2 separate regions of the Homo sapiens genome follow, and region 2 is linked to region 1. The links are contacts of gene promoters, found by promoter capture Hi-C in blood cells and fetal thymus (Javierre and others, 2016). All regions are on one chromosome and are shown on one strand. The core of a region is centred on a gene start or on the middle of the fragment in contact, and the rest is flanking DNA. Distances in the headings are between cores, read along the strand shown.

Evidence for each region. The method cuts DNA at HindIII sites, captures the fragments that hold promoters and counts their contacts. A CHiCAGO score of 5 or more calls a contact.
Region 2: a fragment that was not itself captured here is called in contact with the fragment with the promoter of TRANK1 in region 1 in 1 of 17 cell types (neutrophils); the score reaches 6.7 in neutrophils.

Annotation. Positions count from the first base shown.
Region 1 is chr3:36,943,208-36,947,825 of GRCh38, forward strand. TRANK1 (tetratricopeptide repeat and ankyrin repeat containing 1) reads right to left here and starts at 1,847. Exons shown (of 24, transcript NM_001329998.2): 1 at 1,580-1,847. The coding sequence starts at 1,602. RefSeq lists a silencer at 1,495-1,714 and an enhancer at 1,945-2,014. The HindIII fragment of the contact is 7,723 bases long and covers 737-4,618 here.
Region 2 is chr3:37,164,361-37,168,978 of GRCh38, forward strand. All of the region lies in intron 1 of LRRFIP2 (LRR binding FLII interacting protein 2), which reads right to left. Among named protein-coding and RNA genes, the nearest start is that of LRRFIP2, 7.9 kb to the right of the region's middle. The HindIII fragment of the contact is 8,372 bases long and covers 1-4,618 here.

The DNA of each region.
Region 1 (4,618 bases), core at 597-3,096:
GGGAATAGAATGGAAAATATCATTGTGCCTCACCCTGTAGAAAGAATAACTATACCATGAAGCTCTTGCTGCAATTTTACATGTGTATGTGTGTGTGCGTATATATGTATATATAATATTACACACATATTATGCATATATACATTATATACATATAGGTGGGTGGGTGTGGGTCTTGATCGAAAAAAGACCTAGAAACCCATACATAGGCCAGTGGCAGTGGGATGCGACTCTGGGAGTGAATGCCACACACACCTATCCCACCTCTACCCACCCCCCCACCCCCCGCAGAGGATGCAAAAGCCAACAAAGAGCATATGAACTCAAGCACCTATCCTGCAATCCTACAAAACAGACCTGCCTGGAAAACAGTTGAAACAAACTCCTGACCACCGTCCCCGCCCTCCAACACACACACACCGTAGTACTTTTTTTTTTTTTCTATAAAGGACCAAACAGGATGCCATCCGGATAACAGCCTTATATCAAAAAGGATCCTGGAACCCAAAACGCTCAGCACGAGGGAGCAGGAGCGCATACCTACGCTGGGAACACAAGGCTTTAATCCCAGCTATTCCTTCCCGCATAAGGACTAACTGAGCCAGCAGCAACTGGGTTGGAGCAGATAGGGGAACTAGAGACCTCAGAGCCCCATTCTCTTTCTGCTTCTTAAATTTTTTTTTCTTTTATTTTCCAAATTGCACACTTCCATAAAAATTTTCCTAGGAAGCACCAAAGCTTTCAACTGCCCAGAAACACCCCGATCTGGGAGAAAAGGTGGCTTGAGCTGCACCTCAAAGATGGGCTCTATCTCAGCCGGGTTGCAAGTGCACAGGGCTCCCCGCGGGACGGAGACAGGGAGTTGGGAGGAAACGCAACGCGCCTCCCAGGCAACAGACTCCGAGCTCCGGTTCGGAAACGCTCCGAGGCAGAAGCAAGGGCTTCTAAGGGCTCCGCTTCCCAGCCTTGGGTCCCTACTACTACCTTCCCCCTAGACTCGGTGAGCCCAGGCTGATGGACCGTGCAGTCCAGTTTGAGCCAGCCCAGCAGCCCTCAATCGGGCGGGCAGGGAAGAAGGCCTCCTACTGCCGGGAAGAGGCCAGCGCGCTCCAAGTTCCCCGCAAATTCCGCCCTTCCCGCCTGGCACGGTTCCCTTGCACCGCTGTGCTCCGCTCCCAGGTTTCTGCCCGCCAAGAATGCTTGCCCCGGGGGCGCGCTCGCTGGTCAGGAACCTGTCGGCAGCCCCCGGGAACCCCTGAGGATGCGGAGGTGGGCCCGAGAGCTGCGGCTTCGATGCCGGGGTGGGAGCTAGGCAGGCCGCGCGCCGCCGCAGTCCTGTCGCAGCGCGTGCCCTGGTCCCTCCGGACCGAAAAGGCCGAAGCCGTCCCCCGCGACCGACCCCGCGCAACTGGCTCGGGTCTGCACCTAGATGGCTGTGGGCCCCACAGGGATGGCCGGGCGGGCCCGTTCGGCCGCTACCTCAGGGTCGCCAGTCCCCGCGCGCGGCCGCCTCCCGCCAGGAAGGGTGGCGGGCCCGGAAGGCCAGAGATGCCCCAGTGCTTCCCGCGCCGCTACGCACCTAGCTGCCCGCGGGTCCCACATGGCTGCGGCCGGAGGGTCCGCACCAGGACCGCCGCCGCCTGGGGAAGCGCTTCCCTGTGGGCAGGGCGCGGCGGGCAGTGCGGAAGCCCGAAAGCTACCGGAGCCCGGGGCAGGGGCGGCGCGATGCAGAGGCGGCGTTCGGGGGCCCCCAGCTGCCTGCGGCTCGGCTACCCAGCCGCGATCAGAGGGGGCGGGGGACGCAGGAACCCCGGCGTCCGGGCGGTGTGCAGCCGCAGACCTATTCCAAGTTTCCACGTAGTTGCGAGAGCCCAAAAACTGTCACGTGCACGTCGCTGCTGAGTGGGAGGAGGTGTTTGTCATCGCGTTCAAAAGGGGCGTTTCGGTGTCTCCCGTCATGCAAGCAAATGGTATGGCTCTCGGCCGCCTTTGAATAAACGAGTGCTTCGAACCCTTTACCAGGAGGGACTAGGCGCACAACCACCTCCGACACTCCTCGGGCATGCGAGAATTCGGCTTTCCTTAGTGGGGCCCATCAATGTTGTCCGGGAGGTAAAGAAAGTGATCGGCCAACGGCCTCAGCGTGGGTTTTCTCCTTCCCTCGTTCCTCCCTCCAACAAAGGACGTACGGAGAACAAGCCCCCTAGCTCCTACAGATGAGGAGCTCAGGAGTCGGGCGAATATCAAGTACTTACTGTGTGCTTGCCCCTCCACTCTGGGGAGGCTGGGGGTCCGGGAGTGAAGGGGGCAGCGAGACCGCGGGCTGCTCCACGCTCACCGTCGTGTCCATGGAGAGTAAGTGCGCACAGGCCTGAGCAGGCAACAAAATGAGGATCTTGCCTTGTCTTTCCACCTCCCCAGTGATGATCGACAGAGTAGTGGGTCGGAGAGGACCACCTCTGGCTGCTACCTCCCCAGCGGTTCTCGGCCTAGGGAGCCGGTTTGGTCTTCACAGCTTCTCTGGGCCTGGGAGTACTTTCCTACACACCAGAGAATCCACCCAATCAGAGAGCTAAGCCCGCCGCCCTCCCCTGGGGCAAGGTTCGGCCTACACTGCATCCCGGTGGTTCGCCCATCCTTCTGGGGGACCACCACACCAGGCTGCCTGGTGGCAGGGAGGACACCACCAGAGCTTTAGTGAGGGGGACCACACATTTCAGCGAAACAGAGAGGCTTTGGTAACACGTGGACACACCTAAGGCACACAGTATACTTCTCTCCACTGGTCATTCTGCGTTGTGAACTAGTCTCAGTCTAGCTAGTGGTCTCCTTGCTTCTAGAATCTCACAGAGATTTCTGTGCATTGATCTTCCCCAAACATCAGGATGAATCACGTACAGTTCAAAAGCCATCAGTGGCACTCCATTGTCTCCTAGAGATCAGGTTAGGTACCCGGGCATTTGAGATTCTTCTTCACAATCTTGCCCCACATTTCCAATCTTAGCTTCCTCATGCAAACTCTATACTGCAGTGCTTCCCAACCTTAGTTACACAATAGAATCACCTGGGGAGCTTAAAAACAAAAACAAGGCCGGGCGGGTGGCTCACACCCGTAATCCCAGCACTTTGGAAGCCTGAGGCAGGCGGATCACCTGAGGTCGGGAGTTTGAGACCAGCCAGACCAACATGGAGAAACCCCATCTCTACTAAAAATACAAAAAAAAAAAAAAAAACCCAAAAATATGCGTATGTTTGGCTTTTACTCCCAAATTGTCTAATTGACATGGGCGTCAGGAATTTTTGTTTTTGTTTTTGTTTTGAGACAGTCTCACTCTGTTGTTCAGGTGATTCTCCTGCCTCAGCCTCCTGAGTAACTGGGATTACAGGTGCCCGCCGCCTTGCCCGGCTGAATTTTTTAGATTTTTAGTAGAGGCGGGGTTTCACCATGTTAGACAGGCTGGTCTCAAACCCATGACCTCAAGTGATCCACCCACTTAGGCTTCCCCAAGTGCTGGAATTATAGGTGCAAGCCACCACACCCAGCCACATCAGGATTTTTAAAAGACTATAACATGCTGCAAAGTTTGAGAATCACTGCTAGCCACCAAATAGTTGGACTACTTGCTATTTCCCAGACATCATTGGTCCTTTCACTTTTAGGATACTTTCCATATCCTTCCTCCAATACTTTTCCCAACATCCCCCAATTCTATATTTAGGAAAGCACATGCCACCTCTTCTAGCATACCTCTTTCTGTTGGTGATTTTTGGGTTTGTTCAGTTTGGGTTTTGGTTTGGTTTGGTTTTGGTTTGGGGTTTTTTGGTTGCGGGGTATTTTTTGGTTTCGGAGATATTTTTGGTTTTGGGGTTTTTTGTTTTTCTTTTTGTTTTGGGGGGTTATTTTGTTTTGTTGTTGTTGTTGTTGTTATTTTTGCCAACTTCAAGGAGTCTACTTCCAGAAAGCCTAGCCAGGTTCTTACATCAAAGAGAGCAAGCCAAGGGATTGGTGAAGAGAGGAGGATTTAAAAAAACCAAAAAGTCCGTTTACACTTTGACCACTCTTTCACTAGTTTTCATAAGCATCTCAAAATCTTGTTGTCATACATCTTCTTTGGATATCTTCACCATAATCCTCAAAAGTCACGTCAGTATGTTATCTTTCTTTTTAAAACTGTTTCTTCTCTGTCTTCTATTTTTATATTTTTATCAGTTATACATTCACAGTTAAAAGAGCAGGCCTCAGCCAGGCGTGGTGGCTCATGCCTGTAATCCCAGTATTTTGGGAGTCCCAGGTAAGCAGATCCCCTGAGTCAGGAGTTCAAGACCAGCCTGACCACCATGGTAAAACCCCATTTCTACTAAAAATACAAAAATTAGCTGGGCATGGTGGCGCATGCCTGTAATCCCAGCTACTCTGGAGACTGAGGCAGGAGAATCGCTTGAACCTGGGAGGTGGAGGTTGCAGTGAGCCGAGATCATGCCACTGCACTCCAGCCTGGGTAACAGAGCGAGACTCCATCTCAATAAACAATCATAAAAATAAAATAAAAAATAAATAAATAAAAAGAGCAGGCCCCTTTTTCCCTTCCACCTGACTTCTTCCCTAGAAACAACCACT
Region 2 (4,618 bases), core at 1,551-4,050, 220 kb after region 1:
CCACCAGTAAGTCCCACCATCCGAAGATACTCCTATTTTAATAACATTATTTTTTAAACAAAAATTGGTTAATATGGCAGGGCATGGCGGCTCATGCCTGTAATTCCAGCACTTTGGAAGGCTGAAGTGGGCAGATCACCTGAGGTCAGGAGTTCGAGATCAGCCTGACCAACATGGTGAAACCCATCTCTACTAAAAATACAAAAATTAGCCAGGCATGCATGGTGGCAGGCGCCTGTAATCTCAGCCACATGGGAGGCAGAGGCGGGAAAATTGCTTGAATGTGGGAGGCAGAGGTTGCAGTGAGCCAAGATCATGCCACTGCACTCCAGCCTGGATGACAGAAAAAGACTCCGTCTCAAAAAAAAAAAAAAAAGTTCCTAAAACATGCTATTTTGTAATCAGTTATGGTAGACAAATTCTAAGGTGGTTCCCCACCCTAATCGCCCTTCCTACTGTTCACACCTTTGTGTAATTACTTCCCCCATGAATGTAGGTGGGTCCTGTGACTTACTTCTAACCAACAGAATATGGCAAAGGTTATACAGGATGCTACTCCCATAACTATGTTACATTATATAAGACTGTCTTCCAGCCTGGTGCGGTGGCTGACGCCTGTAATCCCAGCACTTTGGGAGGCCGAGGCTGGCAGATCACGAGGTCGGGAGATCGAGACCATCCTGGCTAACATGGTGAAACCCCATCTCTACTAAAAATACAAAAAATTAGCCAGGCGTGGTGGTGAGCGCCTATAGTTCCAGCTACTTGGGAGGCTGAGGCAGGAGAATGGCGTGAACCTGGGAGGCGGAGCTTCCAGTGAGCCGAGACTGCACCACTGCACTCCAGCCTGGGTGACAGAGCGAGACTCTGTCTCAAAAAAAAAAACAAAAAAACAAAAAAAAATGAACTGTGCATGTGAGGGATCTAGGTTGTGCGTTCCTTATGAGAATCTAATGCCTGATGATCATCTGAGATGAAATGGTTTCATCCCGAAACCAACCCCCCCACCCACCCCACCCCCGTCCATGGAAAAATTGCTTTCCACAAAACTGAATCCTGGTGCCAAAAAGGTTGGGGACCACTGCCTTATACCATATAGAAAAGTTAACTCAGGGGTCAGGCATGGTGGCTAACGCCTATAATCCCAGCACTTTGGGAGGCCAAGGCAGGCGGATCACCTGAGGTCAAGAGTTCAAGACCAGCCTGACCAGTGAAACCCTGTCTCTACTAAAAATACAAAAATTAGCTGGGCGTGGTGGCAGGTGCCTGTAATCCCATCTACTCGGGAGGCTGAGGCCAGAGAATTGCTCGAACCCAGGAGGTGGTGGAGGTTGCAGTGAGCCCGAGATTACACCATTGCACTCTAGCCCGGGCAACAAGAGAGAAACTCTGTCACAAAAAAAAGAAAAGAAAAGAAAAGAAAAGAGAAAGAAAGAGAAAGAAAGAAAGAAAGAAAGAAAGAAAGAAAGAAAGAAAGAAAGAAAGAAAGAAAGAAAGAGAAAGAAAGAAAGAAGAAAAAACTCAAAATGGATCAAAGACCTAAACAAATGAGCTAAAACCATAAAACTCGTAGGAGAAAATATATGGGAAAAACTTCATGATATTGAATTTGGCAATGATTTCTTGGACATAATACCAAAAGCAGAAGCAACAAAAGAAAAGGTAAGTTGGATTTCATCAAAATTAAAAACTCTGGGCAGGGCGCGGTGGCTCACATCTGGAATCCCAGCACTTTGGAAGGCAGGCAGATCACGAGGTCAGGAGTTCAAGGCCAGCCTGGCCAACATGGTGAAAACCCGTCTCTACTAAAAATACAAAAATTAGCCAGGCATGGTGGCGCATGCCTGTAATCCCAGCTATTCAGGAGACTGAGGCAGGAGAATAGCTTGAACCCAGGAGGCGGAGGTTGCAGTGAGCCGAGATTGGGCCACTGCACTCCAGCCTGGGCAGAGCAAGACTCCATCTTAAAATAACATAACATAAAATAAAATAAAATAAAATAAAAACAAAACTGTGTACATCAAAGCACACTATCAAAAAGTAAAAAGGCAAACCACGGAATAAAAAAAAATTTGCAAATCACATAGCTGATAAAGGATTGATATAAAGAACTCCTACAACTAAGCAACAACAAAAACCCAATTAAAAAGATAAAAGACATAAGTAGACATTTCTTCAAAGAAGATACAAAAATGGTCACATGAAAAGATGCTCAGCCGGGCATGATGGCTCAACATACGTAATCCCAGCACTTTGGGAGGCTGAGGCAGGAGTATTGCTCGAGCCCAGGAGTTGGAGACCAGCCTGGACGTTGCTTGAACCCAGAGTTGGAGACCAGCCTGGGCAACATGTCTCTACAAAATATAAAAAAAAAGAGGCAAGGCACAGTGGCTCATGCCTGTAATCCCAGCACTTTGGGAGGCTGAGGTGGGCGGATCACCTGAGGTTGGGAGTTCGAGACCAGCCTGGTCAACATGGAGAAACCCCATCTCTACTGTAAATACAAAATTAGCTGGACATGGTGGCGCATGCCTGTAATCCCAGCTACTTGGGAGGCTGAGGCAGAATCGCTTCAACCTGGGAGGCAGAGGTTGCAGTGAGCAGAGATAGCGCCATTGCACTCCAGCCTGGGCAACAAGGGCGAAACTCTGTCTCAAAAAAAAAAGAAACAGAAGGAGAAAAGAAAATCAGCTGAACATGGTGGTACATGCCTGTGGTCCCAGCTACTGGAGAGGCTGAGGTGGGAGGATCATTTTAGCCCAGGAGGTCGAGGCTGCAGTGAGGCATGATTGTGACACTACACTCCAGCCTGGGTGCCAAAGCAAAATCTTGTCTCCAAAAAAAAAAAAAAAAGAAAGAAAGAAAGAAAAGAAGAGAAAAAGAAAAGATGCACAATGTCACCCATCACCAGGGAAATACAAATCAAAACCACAGTGAAATACCACCCTATTAGAGATTTTATTTTAAAAATAATCGATTTTTTTGTGTTAGAAAACAGGGCCAGGCACAAGCAGGCCGGGTGCAGTGGCTCACGCCTGTAATCCCAGCACTTTGGGAGGCCGAGGCGGGCAGATCACAAAGTCAGGAGTTCGAGACCAGCCTGGCCAATAGGGCGAAACCCCGTCTCTACTGAAAATACGAAAATTAGCCGGGCGTGGTGGCGGGTGCCCATAGTCCCAGCTACTTGGGAGGCTAAGGCAGGAGAATCGCTTAAACCCAGGAGGGAGAGGTTGCAGTGAGCCGAGATCGCGCCACTGCACTCTAGCCTAGGCAACAGAGCAACACTCTGTCTCAAAAAAAAAAAAAAGAAAGAAAGAAAAAAGAAAAAAAAAAGAAAACGGGACCAGGAACAATGGCTCACACCTGTAATCCCAGCACTTTGGGAGGCCAAGGCTGGCGGAGCTCAGGAGTTTGAGACCCTCCTGGGCTAATGGAGAGACCTCATCTCTACAAAATATACAAAAATTAGCCAGGCATGGCAGTGCACACCTGTACTCCCAGCTACTCGAGAGACTGAGGTGGGAAGGAACACTTAAGCCCGGGAGGTCAAGGCTACAGTGAGCTGTGGTCGGGCCATTGCATTCCAGTCTTGGTGACAGAGTGAGACCCTGGCTCAACATAAATAAAAATCAATCAATAAGAAAACAGAAAATAGTAAATGTTGGCAAGGATGTGGAGAAACTGGAACCCTTGTGCATTGCTGGTGGTAATGTAAAATGGTATAGCCACTGTGGAAAATAGTATGGTGGTTTCTCAAAATATTAAGCATAGAATTACCAAATGAAATTTGGTAATTATCAAATTACTAGCAATTCCACTTCTGGGTACATACACAAAAGAATTGAATGTGGCACTCAAACAGACATTTGCATACTCATATTCATGGTGGCACTATTCCCAAAAGCAGAAAGATGGAAACAACCCATCTATCAAAAGATGATTAAACAATATGGTATAAACATACGAAGGAATATTTTTCAGCCTTAAAACAAATGAAATTCTGATACATGCTATGACATGGATGAATCTTGAAGACATCATGCTAAGAGAAATGAGCCAGACACAAAGACAAATATTACATAATTCCATTTATACGAGGTACCTGGAGTACACAAATTCATAGAGTCAAAAAGTAGAACAATGGTTACCAAGGGCTATGGGCATGAGGTGATATTGTTTAATGGGCAGAGCTTGTTTAGGATGATGAAAAAGTTAGGGAGATGGATAGAGGTGATAGTTACACAATAATGTAAATGTACTTTATACCACCGAATTGTACACTTAAAAATGGTTTAAATGATAAATTTTAAGTTATGTACACAGTCATGTGCTGCATAAGGATGTTCCAGTCAACAATGGATTACACATATTACAGTGGTCCCATAAGATTATAATGGAGCTGTCCTATACACGTGTGCCCTTTTAAGAGATGGGGCCTCACTATGTTGCCCAGGCTGGAACGCAGTGCCTATTCATAGATGTGCTCATAGCACACTACAGCCTAGAACTCCTGATCTCAAGTGATCCTCCTACCTCAGCCTGAGTACCTGGAATTACAGGTGCACACCACCATGCCTGGCCTATTTTCTAATCTTTTATATCATATTTTAACTGTATC